Linked DNA regions of Homo sapiens: all the other regions are linked to region 6. Evidence: promoter capture Hi-C in 16 types of primary human blood cells and fetal thymus (Javierre and others, 2016). All regions are on one chromosome and are shown on one strand. Each heading gives the region's core, a stretch centred on a gene start or on the middle of the fragment in contact. The rest is flanking DNA. Distances are from core to core; before and after follow the strand shown. Region 1 overlaps NEK4 (NIMA related kinase 4). Region 2 overlaps ITIH1 (inter-alpha-trypsin inhibitor heavy chain 1). Region 3 overlaps NEK4 (NIMA related kinase 4). Region 4 overlaps STIMATE-MUSTN1 (STIMATE-MUSTN1 readthrough). Region 5 overlaps NEK4 (NIMA related kinase 4). Region 6 holds the start of RFT1 (RFT1 glycolipid translocator homolog).

Region 1 (4,269 bases), core at 679-3,178, 370 kb before region 6:
GAAAAAAGAAAAAAAAAAAAAAAGCCTGGGCACAGTGGCTCATGCCTGTAATTCCAGCACTTTGTTTGGGAAGCCAAGGTGGGAGGACCTCCTGAGCCCAGGAGTTTGAGACCAGCCTGGGCAACATAGTAAGACATTGTCTCTACAAATAAAAAAATTAGCCAGGCATGGTGGCATGCTGTGGTCCCAGCTACTCAGGAGGCTGAGGTGGGAGGATCACTTGATCCAGAGAGGTGGAGGCTAGATTGAGCCGTGATCGCAGCACTGCACTCCAGCCTAGGCAACAGAGCAAGACCCTGTATCAAAAAAAAAAAAGCAAAAGCTTTAGCAGATATTTCTCCAAAGAAGACATACAAATGGCCAACAAGCATGTGAAAAGATGCTGTATGTCATTAATCGTTAGGGAAATACAAATCAAAAATACAATAGGATACCACTTTACACCCACTAGGATGGCTAGAATCAAAAAATCAGAAAATAATTAGTGCCGGCAAAGATGTGGAGAAACTGGAACTCTTGTGCACTGCTGATGGGAATGTCAAATGGTGCAGCCACTGTAGAAAACAGTGCAACAGTTCCTCAAAAAGTCAAACCAAAAAAAAAGTCAAACCAAAAATTACCATTTGACTCAGCAATTCCACTGCTAGGTATGTACCCAAAAGAACGGAAAACAGGTACTCAACTACTTGCACACTTATGTTCATAGCAATAGCCAAAAGGTGAAAAAAACCCAGATGTCTACTAATGGATGAATGGATAAACAGTGGTATATCCACATAATGGTAGCCAGACCTAAAAAGAAATGAAGTATTCATACATGCTACATGGATGAACCTTGAAAATATGCTATGTGGAAGACACCAGAAACAAAAGGATATATTTAATGATTCTATTTACATGAAATATCCAGGACAGGTAACTTCATAGAGACAGGAAACACACTGGTGGTTGCCAGAGGCTGGGTGAAGGACAAAATGGGAGTGACTGCTTAATGAGGAAGAGATTTCCTTTGGGGTGATGAAAATGTTTTGGAACTACATAGAAGTGACGGTTGCACTACACTGTGAATGTACTGGCCACATTTAATTGATCACTTTATTTATTTATTTTATTTTATTTATTTTTATTTTTATTTTTGAGACAGTGTCTCATTCTGTCACCCAGGCTGGAGTGCAGTAGTGCAGTCTTGGCTCACTGCAACCTCCACCTCCCAGGTTCAAGCGATTCTCCTCCCTCAGCCTCCTGAGTAGCTATGACTACAGGTACATGCCACCACAGCCAGCTAATTTTTGTATTTTTAGTAGAGATGAGGGTTCACCATGTTGGCCAGGCTGGTCTTGAACTCCTGACCTCAGGTGATCTGCCAGCCTCGGCCTCCCAGAGTGCTGGGATTGCAGGCATGAGCCACCGCGCTCAGCCTTAACTGTTTACTTTAAAATGGTTAATTTTGTTATATAAATTTCACCTAAAAAATTCTTAAAGTTATTACAGCACTGACTTTGTGAACAATTTGACAGCCCAATTTGGATAAAGCTAAATCAATCACCTTAACCAGTATTCTTTCTTTACAGTAAGGAATTAATTGTACAACAGAATCTCTAGTAAAGCATAATCATTTCACACAAAATAATTTGCTTAGATGGCCCATTTTTCTAAGTGCAGTTTCTAAAACACATACCCTTTAAAAAGAAACGTACCATTATATATGTCTGGGAGCCCTCAGAAGAGAGTGGTTGGGGGTGGATTACTTCATGATTTGATTCTGCCTCTCCAGAAACCACTGTAGCAAAAGGCTTGGATTGAGAGTCACCATTTTTAATGTTATTTTTGGAGGTTTTTCTTTATAAAGAAGAAAAGAAAGAGTTATTATCAATATACTGAAGATTAAGGGTTTTTAGGTATATGTGGGAGTGTGTGTATACAATGAATTCCCTTACAGAACTGCACCATTTATAGAGAATAGTTTTCTAAAAATCTAAGGGGCATCCTACAAAACACCTCACCAGTAGTCTTTGAAACAATCAAGGTCATAAAAAATAAACAAAGTGAGAAACAATCACAGACCCCTGATTAGATGTACTATATCCTGGATTGGATCCTGGAACAGAAAAGAGACATTAGAGAAAAAAACTGGTGAAAGCCAAAGAAAGTCTGGAATTTAGTCAATAGTAATATTTTTCTTTCTTTTTTTAAAAAATTGAGACAGAGTTTCACTCTGTCATCCAGGCTAGAGTGTAGTGGCGTGATCTCAGCTCACTGCAACCTCCGCTGCCCAGGTTCAAGTGATTCTTGTGCCTCAGCCTCCCGAGTAGCTGGGACTACAGGTGCACGCCACCACGCCCGGCTAATTTTTTTGTATTTTTTTTTTAGTAGAGACGGGGTTTTGCCATGTTGGCCAGGCTGGTCTTAAACTCCTGACCTCAGGTGATCTGCCAGCCTCGGCCTCCCAAAGTGCTGGGATTACAGGCGTGAGCCACCATGCATGGCCAAGTCAATAGTAATATTTCGATGTTGGTTTCTTAGTTTTGACAAATGCATTAGGGTATGTAATCTGGTAATCACAGAAGAAACTAGATGAGGGGTATACAGGAACTCTCCACTCTATCTTTCCAACTTTTCTGTTTATACAAAATTATTCCAAAATAAAAATTCTATGGGAGATTGCCTCACATACGGGAGTATCAGGTTAATTTTCATTTTCAAATTTTACATGTCTGTAATAATACCACAACTGCTTGGCTAACTTTGAGAGTAAAACTGATTGGTACACTTAGTCCTGCTTATAGAATAAATGCATACAGGAATAACATCCCCAACTATTTTAGTATGTCATTTCTAAAACTGGGCTAAACCTCTGGAGAATTCAAGAGGAGCATGGAGATCAGTACACTGGAAGGCCAAAGGTCTGCTTGGTGGGAAATTATGTACACAAAAAGATGGTTCTTCTTTATTCCCTGAGGCATCTCTAGCACTGCCTCCTCTCTTTCCAAATTTAACATGCCACAAGGCAAGAGGAGAAGCCAAACAGATTGTAATAGTTTTGTCCAGCCCTAAGTCTTAGATCCTGGAACACCTGTTTAGTAAAGGTAGGATCTGCAAGCCAAAGCAAGGAATTCTCTTGGGAAGTTAATGTGAATGAAGAGGGAACTTTATGCAAGCTCTCAGAAATGTGAGCACTACTTTTTAAATATTACTATCTTACACAGTAAGATGTATAGGTTTCTCAGATAATCTCTAATTATATGATTTCTAAAACATATGCCCTCTTTTTTTTTATTATTATTTGGCTGCTCCTTGAGAACAGGACTAACTCATAGGCAGTGAGCCCAGAGTAGTGCATATGTCCTTTAAAAAAAAATTTACACTATATGTCTTAGAACCCTCTGAGGAATGTGACAGTGGTTCTCCAAATTTCTGATTTTAGCAATTAAGCAAATTTCAACATGTATTTGAAGACTGGGAGAATATGCCACGCCAAAATATGCTACTTTGGCATAAAGATTATTTTGGGCTAAGGTTCTTTAAAAAGTAAGTGCAAGCTTTGGGAGGCCGAGGTGGGCGGACCACGAGGTCGGGAGTTCAAGACCAGCCTGGCCAACATGGGGAAACCCTGTCTCTACTAAAACTACAAAAATTAGCCGGGCACGGTGGCGGGTGCCTGTAATCCCAGCTACTGGGGAGGCTGAGGCAGGAGAATTGCTTGAACCCGGGAGGCGGAGGTTGCAGTGAGCTGAGATCATGCCACTGCACTCCAGCCTGGGTGACACAGCAAGACTCCATCTCAAAAAAAAACAAACAAAAAAAAGTAAGTGCAAGAAGGGCACTCTGATCTTCCCTTTTTCTTCCAGAAAGCAGAAGATAAAACTCCCATATGAAATACGTCCTCCCTGTACCAGAAGGAAAGTAACATTCTTATTATCAAGAATGGAAAGCTGAAACTGAGAGAATTCTATAAACAGACCTTATTAAAATAATTCTTATCTTCCTTTAGCCTCTCCACCTAGTTTACTTTTCCACAATTGCCTCTCTTTGTTCAATCAAGCAAAAAGCATTTAGGTTTTGCCACTTCTTTGTATTTTTAGTAGAAGTTAGGTCTTCATTTCCTTATGAGGGCTCCTGTGTCACATAAAACTTATTCAGGTATTAAAGAAATCTACATGCTTTTCTCCTGTTAAATTATAAGTTTAATTCTCAAGCTCAGCCAAGAAACCCTAAGAGGGTAGAATTTTGCCTCCTCTACATATGTAATCATGCCATTTTATTTCTTGT
Region 2 (4,099 bases), core at 99-2,598, 350 kb before region 6:
GCCCAGGAGTTTGAGGCCAGCCTGGGCAACAAAGCAAGATCCCATCTTTTTTTTTAAAAAAATAATTTGCTTCAATGTTGCAGATTGATGTGGACATCTTCGAGCCCCAGGGGATCAGCAAGCTGGATGCCCAGGCCTCTTTCCTGCCGAAGGAACTGGCAGCCCAAACTATCAAGAAGTCCTTCTCAGGAAAAAAGGTACATGGGATAGCAAGGGGGTGGTGGTGGGCCCTTTGGAGACTTCTCAGCCTGCCCACCCCTTATGGAATGTCCAGCCTTAGCCCAGAAACCAGGCAGGGGCTGTGGTCTGCCCTCAGGATGAGAGAAGCTGGTGTCATGTGATTGGTGCCTAGGAGAACTCAGCTATCCTGGTTCTCAGAGCAATTTAGCAAAAGCCTGCATGCTGAGGTGGGGAAGGAGCCAGCTCCAGCTCCACCACACACGGGCTGCATGGTCCAGGGTGAGTTGCTGGCTTGCTTGAGCCTCAGTGCCCTCTTTGCCCGCCTCACGCCCATGGGAGAGCATTCAGGGAAATATCCAGCACATAAGTAAACCTCATATGCTGGTGTGGTTAGGACTCCAAGCTTCAGGTTTCTTGGAAACATAAGTTTGGAAAGACCTTTGGCCTACCCAACGACTTGTCGCTTGCCACTATTTGCAGGAATCCCAGAAGCCCCTGGCTCACCCCCACCCCAGGTTCCTGGAGGAGTGTGGTGTATGGATGGGCAATGCCCTGCTTCCTGACTTGCCCCCAACCCGAGCCAGGAACAAATCCTTTAGTTCCCACTTATGTAGAGCCTGCACCACAATTCATTTAAAAGAAGTGCTTCTTACAGTTTAGAGGGGTTTCCTTTTAAACTAAATATGACACCTCAAGAGTGTTAGCAAACATGCTTGCTTTCTGTGGGGGAACAAAGGGATGGGTCCTTGTCTTCCCAAGACTTTTTCAAGGTTCTATTTTATCCTCCATCCTTTCTCTCCTCTTCCTCCTCCTCCTTCACCTCCTCCTCTTCTTTTTTTTTTTTTCTTCTTCTTCTTCTTCTTCTTCTTCTTCTTCTTCTTCTTCTTCTTCTTCTTCTTCTTCTTCTTCTTCTTCTTCTTCCTCTTCTTCTTCTTCTGCTTCTTCTTCTCCTTCTCCTTCTTCTTCTTCTATCTTCTCTTCTTCTTCCTCTTCTTTTCTGCTGCTTCTTCTTCCTTTTGCTTCTGCTTCTTTTTGATGAGCCTACCTTACTTTTATAACAAACAAAAATTTCTTTATAGAAAAATATATGAAGTCCAGGAATATAGAAAGTATTGAATAAAAACCATCACTAGCTTCCCCAAGCACATCACCAACTCCAACCAGACCTCAGCTTCCATTCTGCACCCTTCCTTCCAGTCTTTGTTCTTTGTCAACCTGGGCAGCTTTTATTTCTCACCACAGTATTGTAGTGCTGCTTTTTCACTCAACAGTTTGAGTTGTCAGATGTATCACATTGCTATTATTTTGTTATTATTTATATACCCAAAGTGATGATGTTCATTGTAGAAAATCCCAATGATTCAGAAGCATATAAGCAAGGGAATGGGTCATCTCTCCCACCACCTACAGGTGTGTGCTCTCAGCAGCTAGGTGAGTGAGTGGCCCACCGAACTCGTTTCTCTGTCCGTGCAAACACACACACACACACACGCATGCCTTCTTATGTTGTCTTTGCAAACATCTTGTTTGTGGTTACACAGACCAGTAATGGCTCACACTCTCGACGGTTCCAGGGTCATGTGCTGTTCCGTCCCACCGTGAGCCAGCAGCAGTCCTGCCCCACATGCTCTACATCCTTACTGAACGGGCACTTCAAGGTGACCTACGATGTCAGTCGAGACAAGATCTGCGACCTCCTGGTGAGCCCTGAGCTTCTGGCTCAGCACCCAGAGGATGGGCAAGGGGTGCTGTGAGAGTGGCCTCACTCGTTCTCCTCTATTTCAGGTGGCCAATAACCACTTTGCCCACTTCTTTGCCCCCCAAAACCTGACAAACATGAACAAGAACGTGGTTTTTGTGATTGACATCAGTGGCTCCATGAGAGGCCAGAAAGTGAAGCAGGTAGGCTGCAGCTTGAAACAGCTCACCCAGCAGAAGCTTCCACAGCCCCATCACTCACCACATGCCAGTTTTGCTGCCAGAGTCTGGTTTGGGATTTATCCTCCTGGTCAGAGGCAGAGTGATTTAACAGGAAATCCCAGTGGTTAGCATCTCTGGAATCAGCATCGCTTCCTCACTGTGCAGTCGTGAGGAAGTGCATTCACCTCTCCTCAATGGCAAAAAATGGGAATGACAATGGTGTCTGCAGGGTCATGGAGTTACCCCCTGGGGGAAGTGCTTAGAAGAGGAAACCTGTGCACTACAATTACGGTGGTCCGTGGGGAGGCATCTTATAGCAGGGAATAGCTCTCCGCCCACAGGGTTTGGAGTGCCCTGTCCATGGTGCAGTGTAGACATGGCTGGACAAGGAGTATTCTAGAAGCACAGCTCCTGGGGTCCTTTCTCTTAATCCTGCCCCTCCCGAACTCCTGATTATTTCTTTTCCCCATGGTGGGTTCCTTTGCCTTCTCCACCTCCCTCATCCACCCCAAGGCCCGGCAGGATGCTCCTGTCTCGGGGCCACCTGGTTGTCCTATCTCCTCCTGCTTGTCCACCCTGTGGATCTCTGAAATGGGTATTTGGAGTTGGAAGGTGCTGTCCTGGGGCCACCCTGGGGCCCTGTCTGTCTACTGACTGTTCTGTCCTTGCAGACCAAGGAGGCACTCCTTAAAATTCTGGGGGACATGCAGCCAGGGGACTACTTTGACCTGGTTCTTTTTGGGACTCGAGTACAATCGTGGAAGGGCTCGCTGGTGCAAGCATCTGAGGCCAACCTACAAGCAGCTCAAGACTTTGTGCGGGGCTTTTCCCTGGATGAGGGTAAGGGTGGGGGTCTCAGGCAACCTTGATGTCACCTCTGTCCCCTCAGAATGAGGGCATACACTGGTCTGCTTTCTCTTCCTTGCAGCCACAAACCTGAATGGAGGTTTGCTCCGGGGAATTGAGATCTTGAACCAAGTTCAGGAAAGCCTCCCAGAACTCAGCAACCATGCCTCAATACTCATCATGTTGACAGATGGCGATCCCACAGAGGGTAAGCACCTTGGGGGCTGCCTTGGGAGGTAGTGATCTCCTTGTCACCCGAGACATGCAAGCTGAAGTTGGAAACCCAACCATTGGAGATGCCATCAGGGGGCAGAAAAGCTCAGGGCAAAATCAAGCACTGGTCTAAAAACACAGCTCAGACCACAAAGTCTGAGGGAGCTCTATGGTGTACCTCTGTCCTGTGAGTTGAGAAATTGGAGATGTTTCTAAATGACACAGGTCTGTATGAGTCCCTGGAAGATGGGCAAGATTCCATGCTTCTGTTCACAGTTTAATGAACTATTTATTTATCACCTACTGTATGCTAAGCAAGGGGCTAGGGACTGAAATACCAAGGGAACAAGACATATTTCTGCCCTCAAAGAGCCCGGGACCTACTGGGGGAAGCAGATCCAGGAGTAGATACTGAGGGCCCTGAAAGAACAGGGTGCTTGAGGCTGTGGAACCATAGACAAAGGACACCTGACCCAGGGGGATGTCCGGGAAGGCCTCCTGGAGGAGGTGACTCCTGAGCTCAGTCTAGAAAGAGGGGAGAGTGGCAGGAAGGGATCCCAGGCAGAAGAGGCAGCTTAAGTCATAAAAAGGGTGTGTGCACTGGCAGGGCCTGCCCGGGAACTGTGGGCATGTGCAGAATGGGGTAAAACAAGCGTGGGAAGGTCAGCAGGGTCTCGCAGTCCATGGCAAAGGAGCCATGGCAGGATTTCGAGCAGAATCAGACCTGCTGGTGATGGACCCACCTAGATGGGCGGGGTCTGTGAGGAGCTGTTGATAGCTGCTGCAGTCTCCCAGGAGAGCCAGGAGGACGCGATGCCTCAGGATGCCCAGGAGCCTGGAGATGCTCTGAGATGGAAGGCTTGAGCCCCAGGGAGTGTTCCCCAGAGCCCCCTCGTGCCCCACATGCCTGTGGGCCAGCATCCCGTCACTACCCAGGTGT
Region 3 (4,004 bases), core at 1,300-3,799, 410 kb before region 6:
ATTTAAAAAGTAAAGAAAGGTATAATGACAGTGTCATATCAAATAGAGAATATTAAGAAACAGAAAAAAATTATTAATTTAAAGACCCAAATGGAAATTCTAGAGCTAAAAAGTACAATAACTGAAAAGAAAAATTCACTAGAGGGGCTCAACAGCATACTTACACTGGCAGAACAATTAGCAAGCTTGGGGACAGACCAACAGAAATTATGCAATCCAAATAATGGAGAAAAAGCTAAAATGAAAAATGAACAGAGACTCAGAGAAATGAAGGGCACCATTAACTGCACCAAATATGTATAAAGAAAACACCAGAAGAGGAGAGACAGGAGCAGAAAAAAGTCCAGGCTTGGTGGCTCACACCTGTAATCCCAGCACTTTGGGAGGCCGAGGTGGGCGAATCACTTGAGGTCAGAAGTAAAAGACCTGCTTGGCCAACATGGTGAACCCCCGTCTCTACTAAAAATACAAAAATTAGCTGGGCGTGGTGGCATATGCCTGTAGTTCTGGGTACTTGGGAGGCTGAAGCAGATGAGTAGCTAGGACTACAGACAGCTAGGACTACAGACACACACCACCATGCCAAGAACCCAGGAGATGGAGGTTGTAGTGAGCTGAGATCGCACCACTGCACTCCAGCCTGGGTGACAGAGCAAGACTCTGTCTCAAAAAAAAGAAAGAAGCAGAAAAAAAAAATTTTAAGAAATAATGCCTGAATACTTTACAAATTTATTGAAAAACATTGATCTACATGTCCAAGAAGCTAAATGAACTTCCAAGTAGGATAAACTCAAAGAGATCCACAGACAGACACATTAAGGTTAAAGTGCTGAAAGTCAAAAACAGAGAAAACCTTGAAAGCAGCAAGATGAAAATAACTCATCAGAAGGCAACACCAATAACATTCACAGCTAACATCTCCTCATAAACAATGGAGGCTAGAAGGCAGAAGGATAACATTTGAAGTGCTCCAAAAAACTGTCAAACAAGAATTCCATATCTAGCAAATCTATCATTCAAAAATAAAAGTGAAATAAGGAAATTCCCAGATAAACAAAAGCAGAGAATGTGTGGCTAGCAGACCCACATTACAGGAAAACGAAGTGAAGTTCATCAAGCTAAAAGGATGAGACCCTACACAATAACTCAAAGCAATGTGAAAACACAAGAGTGCTGGTAAAGGTAATTATAAAACACAATACAAACACATTTTGCCTCTCCTTAACTAATCTGAAAAGCTACTGTATGAAACAATACTATAGAAGATGGCAGAGTAAGAAGCATCAGGAATTCATCTCCTCACTCAAGCAAAAATTGTATCTCTTCACTCAACCAGAAATTGTACTGACAGAATCTCTTTTACGTAACTATTTAAAAACTCTGGATTCTCTTGAAGGCTGGAAACATCTGGCGGAAGTCTTAGAAGCTAAATTGTGGTTCACTTCAGCCCCAAGCACTCTGCACCCAGTGGAGACAGTCATGCTGTTCCTGAAGCAGCTTGCATGCTGCTTGCAAGAACCAGGGTAGGCAATAAGAAACCAGTCCTCCAAGTATCAGGGATCTCTGTACTGATAGCTGATTGCTGCTTCTGATCACTGAAGTACAGATATAGAAGCAGGAAACCAATGTTGCAACCATCACTGACACTGTTGCAAACCTCCCTCCCTCTAGCTGAAGTGACTTCCTGGGGATTTAAAAGGCTGGTGCCTTTATTTCTCCCCACTTTATTTTTTTTCTTTTCCCCCTTTTGGGGGCCATACATTGAAGGAGCAGGATGTTCCAAAGCCACTGGGCACGGTGGCTTATGCCTAGAATCCCAGAACTTTGGGAGGCCAAGGCAGGAGAATTGCTTGAGCCCAGGAGTTCAAGACCCGCCTGGGCAACATAGGGAGACTCTGTCTCTACCAAAAAAAAAAATTTTTTTTAATTAGCTAAGTGTGGTGGGGCACGCCTATTGTCCAAGCTACTAAGGAGGCTGGGACAGGAGAATTGCTTAAGTCCAGGACGCAAAGGCTGCAGTGAGCTGTGATTACACCATTGTACTCCAGCCTGGGTGACAGAGCAAGACCCTGTCTCAAAAAAAAAAAAAAAAAGTAACCACATTTACAGGGGAATTTGGAAAGTTACCATGCATGTACATGCCCAGGGGAAAACACAGATTCAGACATGAGAAGGACCTTAAGTTTATACCTGTGACTAATCCCTGGTGATAGTGACAGGAGGTGGCCAAATACCTAGGCAGATGGGGCAGGTTCCCAGTGAAACCCCACCTTCAAGCCAAATCAGTCCGAAGGCTGAAAGACCAGACTGCTGGTCCTGGATGAAACCTGTGATCCAGAGTGGGAACTTCTGTTCCTCTTTGCTCGCCCTTTCCCAATTGATACTTTCTGAATAATGCCTTTTAACCAATCGAATGTTGCCTTTTCTAATACTACCTACAGCCTACCCCTCCCTTATTCTGAGCCCATAAAAAGCCCTGGACTCAGCCATATTAGGGGGACTTCCCCACCTTAAGGTAGGGGGACCACCCTCGCATCCCCTCTCTGCTGATAGCTGTTTCATCACTCAATAAAATTCTTCTCCACCCTCCTCACCCTTCAACATCCAGCGTATCCTTATTCTTCTTGGGCAAGGTCCGAGAGCTCAGAAACTGCTGAACGTGGGTACAAGCTATAACACAAGTGAGCTGGGGCACACCAGCATGGCTGAGCGAGGCCTGGGTGGGGCATGGCCAGCCAGAGGTCCCTGGCTTGCAAAGTGACTGAGAAGTAAATCCTACATCACTGGCATGGAGGACCCCTAAATTATCACATGATAAAAACTCAAATGTCCAGTTTGAAAACAAAAACAAAAAACCACAAGACATAAAAAATAAGTATGGACCATTCAAAGGAAAAAAACAAAAGAAATCAATAGAAATTGTCCCTAAGATCAGATGGCAGACTTATTAGAAAATGATGTGGCCGGGCACGGTGACTCACGCCTGTAATTACAGGACTCTGGGAGGCTGAGGCAGGCAGATTGCTTGAGGCCAGGAGTTTGAGAGTGGCCTGGGTAACATGGCGAAACCCCGTCTCTACAAAATGTACAAAAAAAATAGCTGGGTGTGGTGGCATGCTCCTACAGTCCTGGCAACCTGGGAGGCTGAGGTGGGAGGATGACCTGAGCCCAGGCTGCAGTGAGCCATGACTATTCCATTGCCCTCTAGCCTGAGCGACAGAGCGAGACTCTGTCTCAGAAAAAGAAAGTTATGTAATTATGTGGCCAGGCATGGTGGCTCACACCTGAAATCTAAGTACTTTGGGAAGTCAAGGCAGGAGGATTAGTTGAGACCAGGTGTTTGAGACCAGCCTGGGCAACATAATGAGACCCTGTCTCTACAAAAAAATTTTAAAATTAGCTAAGTATGGTGGCATGTGCCTGTAGTTCCAGCCACTTGAGAAGCTAAGGCGGGAGGATCACTTGTGCCCAGGAGTTTGAGGCTGCAGGGAGCTATCACTGCACCACTGCACTCCAGATAGAATGAGACCCTGTCTCAAAATAAAATAAAATGATGTATAAATAAAACAAATATCAGTAAAGAGAAAGACATAAAAAGAAAAAAAGAATTTTTTTTTTGAGATGGAGTCTTGCTCCATCACCCAGGCTGAAGGGCAGTAGAACCTGTGACCTCCATCTCCCGGGTTCAAGCGATTCTCGTGTCTCAGCCTCCTGAGTAGCTGGAATTACAGGTGCATGCCACCGTGCCTAATTGTTGTACTTTTAGTGTAGACGGGGTTTTACCATGTTGGTCAGGCTGGTCGAACTCCTGACCTTAAGTCATCTGCCTGGCTCAGCCTCCCAAAGTGCTGGGATTACAGGCATGAGCCACCATGCCCGGTCTGAAAAAAAGAAATTCTGAAGATGAAAAGTACAATAACTGCAATGAAAAAGCAGATCTGAGCAAGGACAAGAAAGAAATAGTGAACTTGAAGATAGGATAATTAAAAGTATCAAGTCTGAAG
Region 4 (4,032 bases), core at 1,125-3,624, 290 kb before region 6:
ACAGTGGGGAACAGCGAAGGGGACTAGCTCTGAGGTTGGGCAATACTAGGGAATTTGGTTAGTTCCAAAACCTGTTCACTGGGTGGCAAGCGGTTCCTCAAGGATTGCCCCCTTCCAGAAAAGCGCCACTATTTACTTTGTGTCTTTGGGGCTGGAAATGGGGTAGAAGGGCCAGATGCCCACAGAATTACAGTCCAAAATGGCCACCCACCCACAGAGCAGGCAGCAAGGACAGTCCTCTCTCTTGGCAGGCTGGTCTGTCCCTCCAGGGTGGGGGACACCCAGGCTCGGTGTTTACCCTACCCCTCAACCCCAGGCGCCTGTGAGTCTGAGACCTGCCTGTGCTTGGGTGCAGGTGCAGGTATTTCCTCGCTCAGCCTGGGCCAGGCTCCTCAGAGCAACACACTATACCCCTGTACAGCGATGCATCCAGCTGTGTCCCTCCAGCCTCATGTGCACACACATACAGCTTCATGCATATACCATACACAGAGACAGACAGACCTATGTGTGTGGCCACACACAGAGTGCATGGCTGCCGGGCCCATAGCTACAAATGCACAAAGCTCTACACACTGAGCTATATCGGCAGCACACACACAGATGCGCACACACACACACACACACACAGGCACATGCAAAGATCTATCTAGGCCCCCCCCACCCCCAACATTTCTCTCCACTCCTCCTAACAAACCGTGGAATACCACCAAAGCCACATAGAAGAGGGGTTCTTCAGGGGGTCCTCCCTGAGCCCCCATCTCCCAAGGGCTGCAGAGCCTCCAGTTCATGCTTGGGGCTCAGATCAAGACACAGCTGCCAGAGCCGAAAGTGTCCAGGACTCCACCTCCACTCCCTCTGGCATCAACACAGCCCTTGCTGGGTCCTCCTACCTGGGACATGGTGGGTATTGTGTAAGCGCTGGGTCTCTGAAGGCGCCTCTCTGGCAGGCAGCAGCTGCTGGAAAAGATCTGAGTGGAGCCCAGCCTTCTGAAACTTATATAGCCTGCTTGCTTGTCCCGCAGAGTCACTGCCCCTCCTCTGACAGGCTCCCTGATGATTCAGGTCCGCAGGGTCGCTGGCTTCAGAGTTTATTCTCGGAGATGAGAGGGGCTCCCAGTACTGCTGCCTGGGGGCTGCAGCCCTGATGAAAGCAGATGGCTGCAGAGACCCTTTGCCCTCTGGGACAGCTGCTTGATTCGCCGGGGGGAGGTGCTGGCACTGACGGACATGCTTTGTGTTTACGGATTTGGGTCCTGGAATGTGTGACCATCTGAATTGTTCCTCTGCAAGGGTTCATCCCAGTGTGTGGGGTGGGTGTGGGGTGTCCCTGAGGGAATGGAGGGCCCTAGCTGGGTTGGACTGCTCCAAGCTTGTTTTTCTTCCTCTTCCATCCCTTCCCCTGGATTCCAGTGGACAGATTTTCCATCCCTGCATGGTGGCAGAGCAGGAGCTTCCCGTGTCTGCTGCGTCTGATTATGGCAAGCTCACTGGGCCCTTGCAGCAAACTCAGAGAGGGGCTACCACAGGTTCACAGGTGGAGAAAGTGAGGTAAAGGGAGCCTGGGGAGTTGCTCATGTTTTTGCTGATGTCCTTGTCCTCTATCCTATTCCAACTGCAAGTTCAGAGAGGGGGGAGTAAGGGGTCTGGAAAGGACCAGGGAGGAAACCATGCTCGATGGTGACAGCACTGATGAGACAGAGGTGTGAAACAGGCTCAGGCTCAGGCCTGAGCCTACTCACCTCCGAGTAGGTGAGGCCACCGCAGGGGGGCTGGCCTGCAGGACAGTTTCAGTTGCTCAAAGAGGGTGGGGGAGAGTGAAGCCCACTCCAGATACTGAGCTGCAGAGACAAGAACAGGCCCAAGGGCTCCCCGGAAGGTCACTTAGCTCTCCTTTGCTAGAAGCTCCTAACACACCCCTCCTTGCAAGGGGAAGATCCCCCAGGGCACAGGCCAGGAGCCTACGCCTGGGGTGGGTATGGGGAATAGGTGTGCATAGGTCGCAGCCCTCCCAGTAACACACATATCTAAGTCCTTTTCAGTTTATGATGGAGATTATTTTTATCCTCGAAGGCTCCAGGCAGATGGAACTCAACCAGGCACTGACATTTGGTTATCCCAAATGCCACTCCATTGCTGTCATACTTTGAACCCCACCCCAATCCCCCTCCTGACACCCTGGCTCCAGGAGGCCAATGAGAGGACTGCCAGGCTTGATCTGAGACAAGTGCTGACATGAGGAATGCCCAGGATGTGGCACATGGGCCAAGAGGCAGCTGAGGGCAGGCCAGGCCTTGTGGGGGCCTTCCACTAGTTCCAGGGGTGCCCCTGCAGATGGCACCTGATGCTGCGGCTCTGCCCAGGGACCTCCTTCCAGCCCCGCAGCCTCAGGGACAAGGATGTGGGCTACTCACTGCTTATACTCTACCTCCCCAACACGATGTCCTCCTCAGAGACGGACTTGCTTTAATTCTCACTAGCGAAGAAGTGGAGATGGACATGGCAAGAGCATGTTTGGCTTTTCACTGGGCAGTTGCTGGCTCCCACTCCTGCCATGAGGCTTCGTAAGGTTCCTTCTCACTCTGGTCCCTGGGGAGAACCTTCTAATTCACAGGGGAATCTTTTTTGACCCTGCCAAGCTGTTTCAACTCCAGAGAACCCACAACCACAACCACAAATGTGATGGTTTCTTTTTAAAAAAAACTGTAATAAGATGCCAAACTTTATTGTAAACCATTTTACAATGTAAGTACATCATCTTCTCTTTCATTTCAAAAAAACGTTTCCATGAATCCTACCACCACCGATTAAGCACCCCCACTGGATGGCTGCTGAAGTGGGCCATGGTTTTCCTTGCATAGGTCTGACTTCTAACAAACTTCAGGAAAAGAAAAATCAAATTTAAAACAACCCAACCAACCAACCACCAACCAACCCAGGAGCTCAAGGTGCTTGTGGCAAGTCAGACCATAAGTCCCTTACCAAAAGCCAAGCCCCTCAGAGCTGCTAATGTTTCACGAAGTAAAACAGAGAGCTCTGCACTCTTAGCTGCAAGCGTGTGAAACTTCTAAAAGCCAGCCCCACATTCTACAAGGCAGCTGCTCTGGCCAGTGGGAAGCTCCTTGCACTGCCTATCTTAGCCTGGCTGCGAAAAGGCCAGTGAACTGCAAGGGCAGAGTGAGCTGCCAGCTGGGCGCTGCTCCCTCCAGGGTTCTGAGGCAGCCTTTGGACATAAACTTGGGGCTGCACCCTACAGGCTTACACTGTCTAAGGGAAGTCACAGCTTGGATTTGAGCCTTTTAATATTTTCCCTGAAGAAAGAGGCATGACAGGTGACATTAACCCATGACTCCCTGTTGCCAGGGAGGGCACAAGTTAAAGCTTGAGGAAGGAGGCCACCAGCACGGCTGAGGGGCCACAGACCCTCCTCTTGCATGTGTGCAAGCTGAGTGGACCAAGAAGCCACCACCACCTGGATCTCACTAACATCCCCCCTTGCCATTGTCAACAACCCTCTGACAGCAAAAGGAAGTAACAGTACCAACCACCTCTTCCATTTGGATATGACAGTTCTACCTCATTAGTTTATTTCCAATAGTTACAAGAAATTTGTTCATGACCTTGACTTGCAAGGTTCCACCACAGGTGGCTTGGCTGAGGTCCAGATTTGGACAAATCAGATTCATAGCACACAATATCCAGCCAACGTCCCACCATTTCTCAACACGGTGATGGATGCCATGTGGCCAGGTGAAGAGCTGCACCTCGTAAGGCACCTTGGAGCAGGTGGAGAGGAAACTCATCCCAGGGAGGGAGGGCAGCTCGGGAGGAAGTCCTGACCACAGCCCTCTGATCTGCTCTCATGGGATGGTGCACCACGGAAGAGCCCCCAGTGACTGCAGGAGGCACTCCTGGGGATACAGATTTGTGTGTGTACATGTGTGTGCACGTGCACGTGCACACACACACACAAACACACAAGAAAGGGAAGGCCAAACACGAGAGGTGTCCTATGGTCAGACACCCTATTAG
Region 5 (4,008 bases), core at 1,303-3,802, 390 kb before region 6:
GGGAATTATCCTTTGAAATGTCCAAGTAAGTTCCTACAGACTGACCTGACCCTTCCACAAATAACAACTATAAACTCTAGAAAAAATACAAAACTCAACAACGTAAAGGGAATGCAGAATAAACAAAATCTGCAGGCAGATCTTGGAGAAGAGTCAACACCTTTAAGCCTAAGAGCAGGCCATAGGCAGATCAAAGTACAAGAGAACTCACAATCTTGTGGGCCTACAGAAAGGACAGAGTTCAGAACAACCACTGTCACTAGAAAGTGAGACAGGAACCTTGGAGACAGTCTAAAAGAAACAGCCCCAGATTCTGTGTACAAATTCTGCCTATTTCAAAGTAACTTAACTATACTCAAGTACAAAGCTCAAGAATATTTAAAGAAACACAAAATACCAGCTTCCAATGAGGTAAAATTCAGTGTCTAGCATCCCATCAAAAATAACCAGATGGGCAAAGAAGCAGGAAAATATCATACATTTGTGAAGAGAAAGAAATCAGTTAATAGAAACATATCCAAAAGTGACACGACTGATAGAATTAATAAATGAGGACATTAAAATGGGTAGTATAAATATCTTCCATATGGCCAAGGTAGAAGAAAACATGAACATGTTAAAGAGAGACACAAAGACATTAAAAAAAGACCCAAATCAAATTTCTAGAAATGAAAGATACAATATATTAAATACACGGGATAGGATTAACAGATTAGACACTGCAGAAGAAAAGATTAATGAACTCAAAGACATAGCAATAGAATCTATGAAATGTGAAACAGAAAAAAAGTAAAAACAGGCCAGGTGCAGTGGCTCATGCCTGTAATACCAGCAGTCTGGGAGGCCGAGGTGGGCGGATCACCTGAGGTCAGGAGTTCGAGACCAGCCTTGCCAATATGGTGAAACCCAGTCTCTACCAAAAATACAAAAATGTAGCTGGGCGAGTGCCTGTAATCCCAGCTACTCGGCGGGGCTGAGACAGGAGAATACCTTGAACTCAGGAGGCAGAGGTTGCAGTGAGCCAAAATCATGCCACTGCACTCCAGTCTAGATGACAGAGTTAGACTCTGTCTCAAAAAATAAATAAATAAAATAAAATATATTTTTAAAAAGTAAAAATAAACAGAGCATCAGTGAGCTGTGGCACATATTTAAGGAGCCTAATATACATGTAATTGGAATCCCTAAGAGGGCAGGAAGAAGTCCAAAAAAAAAATGTGAAGAAATAATGGCCAGGCGGGGCGTGGTGGCTCACGCCTGTAATCCCAGCACTTTGGGAGGCCGAGGTGGGCAGATCACGAGGTCAGGAGATCGAGACCATCCTGGCTAACACGGTGAAACGCCATCTCTACTAAAAAAATACAAAAAACTAGCCGGGCATGGTGGCGGACGCCTGTGGTCCCAGCTACTTGGGAGGCTGAGTCAGGAGAACGGTGTGAACCCGGGAGGCGGAGCTTGCAGTGAGCGGAGATTGTGCCACTGCACTCCAGCCTGGGCAACAAGAGCGAAACTCCGTCTCAAAAAAAAAAAAAAAAAAAAAAGAAGAGACACTTTTAGCTCCAGCATATGCCACAAACCATTTATAATTTTATCAGTGGGAATACTAGAGATCTAAATACTACTGAAAATGCACATTTAATATTCATTAAAACAGAAATAGTTTATAAAGGGAGACAGAAAAACAAGAACTTACCCTTCCCCGTAATCCCCATCTGACTTATCAGTTGAACTTGTAGAAGAACTTAACTCATCCTCAGACAGACAATGAATCTGTTTCCTTTCCTATTAAATGTTTGGAAGAATTAAAATTCTACATGACAACACAACCAGAATGTGATACTTGAACCAGTCTTAGATGCAACAACTAGACACAATACGTTCCTAGGTGCAATATAACAGGAGAATCTAACAAATACAAAAATTGTTCCCATATGATTTGTGGCAAAAAGAAAAAAACATTGAAGTGATTTTACCCGTGATATCCCAGTTCACTCATAAAGTCCACAAGAATAACTGAAGAACATCAGATGAAGTTTTTTATTTTGTTTGTTTTTTTTTTGTTTTGATTTTTGTGTTTTTTTGAGACAGAGTCTTGCTCTGTCGCCAGGCTAGAGTGCAGTGGCACGATCTCGGCTCACAGCAACTTCCGACTCTCTGGTTCAAGTGATTTTCCTGCCTCAGCCTCCCGAGTAGCTGGGATTACAGGCACGTGCCGCAACGCCCAGCTAATTTTTGTATTTTTAGTAGAGACAGGGTTTCACCATGTTGGCCAGGCTGGTCTCCAACTCTTGACCTCATGATCCGCCTGCCTCAGCCTCCCAAAGTGCCGGGATTACAGGCATGAGCTACCGCGCCTGCCCAAGGTGAAGTTTTACAAAGGTCCTGGAGAGTCTCAGCTGTGAAGAAATTTCCAGAGGACAGTGGATGGCTAGTTCTGGTTTATCAACTCCTAAGCAGAAGGCTTGTTCTATAGGAATGTTGGCATTTTAAATTACCTAGGCAAACTCAGCTTGTCTTTTTTTTTTTCTTTTTTTTGGATACAGGGGTGTCACTATGTTGTCCAGGCTGGCCACAAACTCCTGGGCTCAAGCAATCCTCCTTCCTTGGCCTCCCAAGTAGCTGAGATAACACCCACAAGCCACCATGCCCAGCTTCAGCTTGCTCTTAATGTGAGACTGTTAAAGTGCTTTAAAGGATCACCTAAAAATACACATAAACCTTACAACTCTGAGATATGGAAGGCAGCCTCTATTAGTGAAATAACTAAATGATATAGTTAAAGAAATAATACATCCAATACTTTCAAAGAACAGGAAGAATTCCCAGAGTATTATACAGAGAGGTGAACATGGGTTAGAAACCTAGTAATTACCCATTTAGCCACCAGATGGTGTCCCTACATCATCTACAGGCAAGAAGGTAAACTACATTGACACAAATAAGAAACTGAGGAATGATTAGCAAGTGAGACTCAAATCTGGCGACACAGATGGGTATGTTGGTATCACAGCAGATTGAGCAAAGTGCTGCCTAGTGCAAGCCCTTAGAAAGTTCTGTTATTTATTTACTTATTTATTTATTTATATTTTTGAGACAGAGTCTTGCTCTGTCACCTAGGCTAAAGCACAGTGGTGTGAACACAACTCACTGTAGCCTCAACCTCTTGGGCTCAAGTGATCCTTCCACCTCAGCCTCCCGAGTGGCTGGGACTACAGGTGTGCGCCACCTTGCCAGGTAATTTTTTTTTCTTAGAGACAGGGTCCAACTATATTGCCCAGATTGATCTCAAACTCCTGGGCTAAAGCAATCTTCTCACCTTGGCCTCCCAAAGTGCTAGTATTATAAGCGTGAGCCACTGCATCAGGCCAGGAAGTCCTGTTAAGACCAACCTATGAAATATTTTTAATTAGGCTATCAATTGTTTACAAGAGTACCTGAAAAATTTATTCCCTTAATGGGTCAATCATAATCCTTTTGACTATTATTTACCAGTTCCTTTCTTTATCAAGAGTGAAAAGATATAACAAGCTGGCCCTGTCCCAAAAATAAATGGAGCTGACATTTAAAAGGTTTACTGCATTAGGCCTGCCAGATGTAGACTGTCCACCTTCTCTCTTAGGAGTACGTAATGCACCTGAGTGACGCTGCAGTCAGAGGAGAGCCGTCGGGCAGGCAAGGGCTGGTCTTCTTCCTGGGGTTTTCCTGGCCCTGCTACACTCAGAGACGCTTTCCTCACTGAAGGGCCTGAAAAGGCAAACATCCCCAGTAGTTGTTTGTGGTGGGCTGCCCCAGTTGAAAAGGGCTTTGTATTTGGTATGGAACATACCCCAGCAGGAGCTAGCCCAAAAGTAAGTCAAACAGCATATTTATCATTTCTCTGGTGTCTGACACCTCAGTTGAAATCTTAGCTCTAGGTCCACCAGCTCTGTGACCTTGGGCAAGTTACTTAACTCCTCAGAGCCTCTGTTTCCTTAGCTGCAAAATGAGGATAATGCTGCATATTTTGGC
Region 6 (4,159 bases), core at 239-2,738:
AGCTTGACCTTACAGGTAAGCCACCTGACTCGTAGTCCAGTGTGTTTTCCGTTATAACTTGTTTTCGTTTTATGAAGCCTATCTGAGTAGTAAGATATTATCAAAGGCTGAAAAAAAACCAACATTGTGGATAAAACAATAAACTCAGTTATTTATGTAGTGAAACAGAAAAAAAAAATCCCTAGGTAAACTTAGAATGGCTAACATTTACTAAGCACATATCACGTGCAAGGCACTCTTCAACATGCTTTCCATAGGTTATCTCATTTCATTCCTACATTGACTATTTTAAAAATACTTATTACCCTAATAAAAATAGCTACATTTATTAAGTACTTGTAGTGTGCCAGGCACTTAAGAGGCATGATTTCATCTAATCTTCCTAATGACCCTGTGAGGTTGCACTATGATTCTCATTTAAGATGAAGAAACTGATACAGAAGTCATCGGATTTATCCCGAAGGCAGGCATCTAGCAAGTGACAAGGCCCAAACTCAAGCCCCATTCTGCTTGGTTCTTTCTTCTGCCCTCCATGTGCCTCTCTAAGATAAGGGGTAGGGTAGATTCGGGACTTGTGTGAAGTAGGGTTGATTGGCTCAAGAGTGAGACAGAGAGATACTGAGCCACTTGACTTAAGAGGTTCAGCTCCTGGGGTTGAAAGAATCTTCAGATACCATTTGGACTAACTGGCCTGTATCATACCTGACAGATGACAAAAATTAGGGCCAAGAAGGGAAGTGACTTGTCCAAGATCACATAAACAGAAGATGCAGCCAACATGTATTAAATGCATACTAAGAGCCGGGTACTGTGTTAAGTACGTTTATTTGAATGATCCCAATCAATCCCTGCTTATGAGCTAAGTACGACATATTATTACCCCCATTTTACTAGTGAGGAACTCAGGCTCTGCAGGTGAAGTCACTTGTCCTGGGTCACGGAGCAATCCAAGCCTAACTCCAGATTTCTCTTCTTAGCTATGCCATATGGACTCTCGGAACTCAGTGGGACTCAAAGTTTGAGGAAGGTGTTTGATGAAGGAAATGAACCCCTTGCCTGAAAAATATCAGATTCTCGAGCACGAAATACCAGTCCCTCACCCCCGCCACCTGATCTAATTCACTCCTACTGCCATATGGGAAATAGAATGCTCAGAAGGAAAGCGGCTTGTCTGCAGTCACCCGGCCTAGACTCTAAAGGCAGGCTCCTATCTCCGGGCCAGGGTCCCCCCTCATCAATGCCACCGTCTCCGGTCGACCCCCCCACCCCCTCCATTGCGGGGTCCACCTCGGGACTGGGTCGGCCCTGGGGCAGGCTCTCAAGGGCCCAAGGGCTGCCATCCCGCGAATCCCGGCTGCAGTACAAGCTGGAACCTGAAGGGCAGAGAGTACCTGCAGGAGGAGACCGGAGGAGGCCAGCCGGGCCGCGTGGCCCAGCACCTCCTGGCTGCCCATAGCCTCCGCGCCAGGCTCAGACACCAGGAAATGCCGCCGCCACTCCGTTTAGTCGCGATAAGATGGCGTCACGGCGCGCCTCGCTGTCTGATTGATGGCCTTGAGAGAGGGGGGCGGGGCACGAGAAGTTCTGGTCCTTTAAGTGGGCCTGTCTCGGGCCGTCTGTTATGGCGCCTGGCTCTTTCTATTTCGGTAGGTTTTGCGCTGTCTGTCGCTTGTGCGCTGTCTGTCCCTCTCTTCCCCGTATAAACGAAATAGTGTGGCGAGTACTAAGAGATACCGTTAAAGAATCCAAAGTTCCTTCTCTGAGGCTTTCAGCCACCAACCAAGAAGCACTAACTTTCCTGGCCTCATCTGCCAAAAGGGGAACAAACTTCTCACTGGCCCGTTAAGAAGATTCTCACCATTGACCTTTGCTTACAGAATCACAGCCACAGACCCTCTGAATTAGGCTGGACAGGAATTGTCCTCATTTAACAGAGAAAGAACTGAGGACCAGAAGTTAGATATAGCACTGTTATGTGTATGGTTTTGTGAAATCCTTCCGAAAGCTCTGAGAATTGGCCCCTGTGGTTAGAGATGAGTAAAGCCTTGGAGATGGGAAGTGACTTGTTCGAATCTACACAACTTGTTTCCTGACTAAGTGGATACCAGGCTCCTGATCCTAAACTTATCACTCTTGCCTGTATGCTAGAAATTGTGAGGGCAGAGTGGAAGAAGGACTGGAAGTGCTTTGTAAAAAAATGTAAAGCGCCCAACATACACAATCAGCTGCTGTTCTGTCAGTGTTCTTATTATCTACCAAGCAGGCTGTAGGAAGCCCAGTCTTTCCCCAATCTCTTTCAGTCCTCACATGATTTGGCCCCAACCTATCTTCTACTACCTTTCACACGATCATTGCCCTTCCCAACACTATCTAGGCCATAGCCATTCCGAGTCCTTACTGGTCCTCAAACAGGCGGTGACTCACTGGCCTTTGCTCCTCCACCCTCTTTGTCCAAAGTGTCTTCCCTGACAGCACCCCTTGCCCTCCTAGACCACACTGTCCTGACTTTCCTGGCCAACCACAGCTGGTACCTGCTGTGGACTAAATGTTTGTGTACCCTCAAAATTCATATGTTGAAGCCTAATCCCCAGTGTGATAGTATTAGGAGGTAAGGCCTTTGGGAAGTAATTAGGTCCTGAAAGTGGAGCCGTCATAATGGGATTCATGTCCTTATAAAAAGAGATGTCAGAAAAATGATCTCTGTGTTTACTATTTGAGGATACAGCAAGAATGTAGCTGTCTGCAACCACGAAGAAGGCTTTGTAAAATGTAAGGCGCCCAACATACACTTAACAGGAACCAAACTGGCTAGCACCTTGATCTTGGGCTTCCAGCCTCCAGAGCTGTGAGAGAAATTTCTGTTTTTGACTTACCCAGTCTATGGTATTTTGTTACAGCAGCCCAAGCAAATCAAGACAGTACCCCTAAAATACTCTGTACCCCTTTATAGTTCCTAATGCAATCTGCATTATAGCAGAAAGACTAGAATATGTGTCTCTATATAATCAGCCCATGAGCTCCAAGAGGGCAGAAGTGCAGCCTGCCTGGTTTTGCTTCCTGAAGTAGCGGTACAGAACATTCTTAGGGCTCCTATAAATGTCTCCTGACACATGACTGCTGCTACTGCTGCTGGAAACAGACTGTGGAACTCAAAGCCTATCACTCCCATCTTCCCAGGTGAAATGAGCTCTGTCTTAGTGTGGAGGCCCAGAATGTGAGCTTTTCTTTTTCTTTTCTTTTCTTTTCTTTTCTTTTCTTTTTTTTTTTTGAGACAGGGTCTCGCTCTGTCTCCCAGGCTAGGGTGCAGTGGTACAGTCTTGGTTCACTGCCGCTTCCACCTCCTGGCCTCAGGTAATCCTCCCACCTCAGCCTTCCGATTAGCTGGGACTACAGGCGTGCAGCACCAGACCTGGCTGATTTTTTCTGTGATTTTTGTAGAGATGGGTTTTTCCCACGTTGCTCAGGCTGGTCTCCAACTCCTGGACTCAAGTGATCCGCCCACCTCAGCTTCTCAAAGTGCCGAGATTACAGGCATGAGCCACCGCACTGCACCCTGCCCAAGAATGTGAGCTTTTGTCTGTCAGAGAGAACTGACCTTGAATCCTCATTCTGCCACTCACTGACTGGGTGACCTCAGTATGCTCAGCTACTAAATAGGGATATTATCTGTCCTGTAAAAATAGTCATAAGGATTGTTTCAGGCAAGTCTGGCCCTCAGAGAGCTTAAATTCTAGTGAAAGGGAAACTGAAAAAAACTCTAACAAACAAATAAAATTTCACATAGGGCTAAGTGCTACGAAAGAATGAAACCAGGTAAGATCCTAGAGGCTTTGGAAGAGAGAGAGGGGTGCTGTTTTAGGATGAGTGAGTTGGGCACCCACCTGGGGAGGAGTGTACTTGGAGAATAGAGAAAGTGCTGGAGGGTCCAGGTATTTGGCATAATGGCTGAGATGCTAAAGACCTTGACCTGGGCAGCCTTCCCACCCCCCTGGACTGTGGGCCAGCAGGTGAGACAGCCTCCCACTTCCTTTATTCCCAGCCAAGCAGTCTCCTCCTCTACAGCTCATCCCCAGAGTAGAACCAGCCAAGAGTTCATCATGTGCACACACTCCTAAGCCTGGCATCCATGTAAGCTGCTTTGGGAGGGAAGAAGTGATCA

The links. The method cuts DNA at HindIII sites, captures the fragments that hold promoters and counts their contacts. A CHiCAGO score of 5 or more calls a contact.
Region 1: a fragment that was not itself captured here is called in contact with the fragment with the promoter of RFT1 in region 6 in 1 of 17 cell types (total CD4 T cells); the score reaches 6.7 in total CD4 T cells.
Region 2: a contact is called between a fragment that was not itself captured here and the fragment with the promoter of RFT1 in region 6, in 1 of 17 cell types (naive B cells). The highest score is 5.0, in naive B cells.
Region 3: a fragment that was not itself captured here is called in contact with the fragment with the promoter of RFT1 in region 6 in 3 of 17 cell types (M1 macrophages, naive CD4 T cells and non-activated CD4 T cells); the score reaches 5.5 in M1 macrophages.
Region 4: a contact is called between a fragment that was not itself captured here and the fragment with the promoter of RFT1 in region 6, in 2 of 17 cell types (total CD4 T cells and naive B cells). The highest score is 6.0, in total CD4 T cells.
Region 5: a contact is called between a fragment that was not itself captured here and the fragment with the promoter of RFT1 in region 6, in 4 of 17 cell types (total CD4 T cells, naive CD4 T cells, non-activated CD4 T cells and 1 more). The highest score is 7.2, in total CD4 T cells.

Annotation. Positions count from the first base shown.
Region 1 is chr3:52,759,098-52,763,366 of GRCh38, forward strand. NEK4 (NIMA related kinase 4) reads right to left here. Exons shown (of 16, transcript NM_003157.6): 6 at 1,698-1,839. Among named protein-coding and RNA genes, the nearest start is that of NEK4, 9.7 kb to the right of the region's middle. The HindIII fragment of the contact is 3,217 bases long and covers 321-3,537 here.
Region 2 is chr3:52,780,186-52,784,284 of GRCh38, forward strand. ITIH1 (inter-alpha-trypsin inhibitor heavy chain 1) reads left to right here. Exons shown (of 22, transcript NM_002215.4): 6 at 84-197; 7 at 1,755-1,880; 8 at 1,966-2,082; 9 at 2,772-2,940; 10 at 3,029-3,154. Among named protein-coding and RNA genes, the nearest start is that of ITIH1, 4.6 kb to the left of the region's middle. The HindIII fragment of the contact is 1,535 bases long and covers 582-2,116 here.
Region 3 is chr3:52,719,660-52,723,663 of GRCh38, forward strand. The region is part of intron 15 of NEK4 (NIMA related kinase 4); the gene reads right to left. Among named protein-coding and RNA genes, the nearest start is that of SPCS1, 16 kb to the left of the region's middle. The HindIII fragment of the contact is 4,732 bases long and covers 184-4,004 here.
Region 4 is chr3:52,834,047-52,838,078 of GRCh38, forward strand. All of the region lies in intron 8 of STIMATE-MUSTN1 (STIMATE-MUSTN1 readthrough), which reads right to left. STIMATE (STIM activating enhancer) reads right to left here. Exons shown (of 8, transcript NM_198563.5): 8 at 2,687-4,032. MUSTN1 (musculoskeletal, embryonic nuclear protein 1) reads right to left here and starts at 973. Exons shown (of 3, transcript NM_205853.4): 1 at 894-973. The coding sequence starts at 902. RefSeq lists an enhancer at 3,404-3,573. The HindIII fragment of the contact is 2,009 bases long and covers 1,371-3,379 here.
Region 5 is chr3:52,739,718-52,743,725 of GRCh38, forward strand. It overlaps NEK4 (NIMA related kinase 4), which reads right to left. Exons shown (of 16, transcript NM_003157.6): 12 at 3,635-3,744; 13 at 1,694-1,782. Among named protein-coding and RNA genes, the nearest start is that of NEK4, 29 kb to the right of the region's middle. The HindIII fragment of the contact is 6,871 bases long and covers 1-4,008 here.
Region 6 is chr3:53,128,947-53,133,105 of GRCh38, forward strand. RFT1 (RFT1 glycolipid translocator homolog) reads right to left here and starts at 1,489. Exons shown (of 13, transcript NM_052859.4): 1 at 1,392-1,489. The coding sequence starts at 1,454. RefSeq lists enhancers at 1,345-1,534, 1,545-1,594, 1,635-1,834, 1,845-1,894. The HindIII fragment of the contact is 8,425 bases long and covers 1-4,159 here.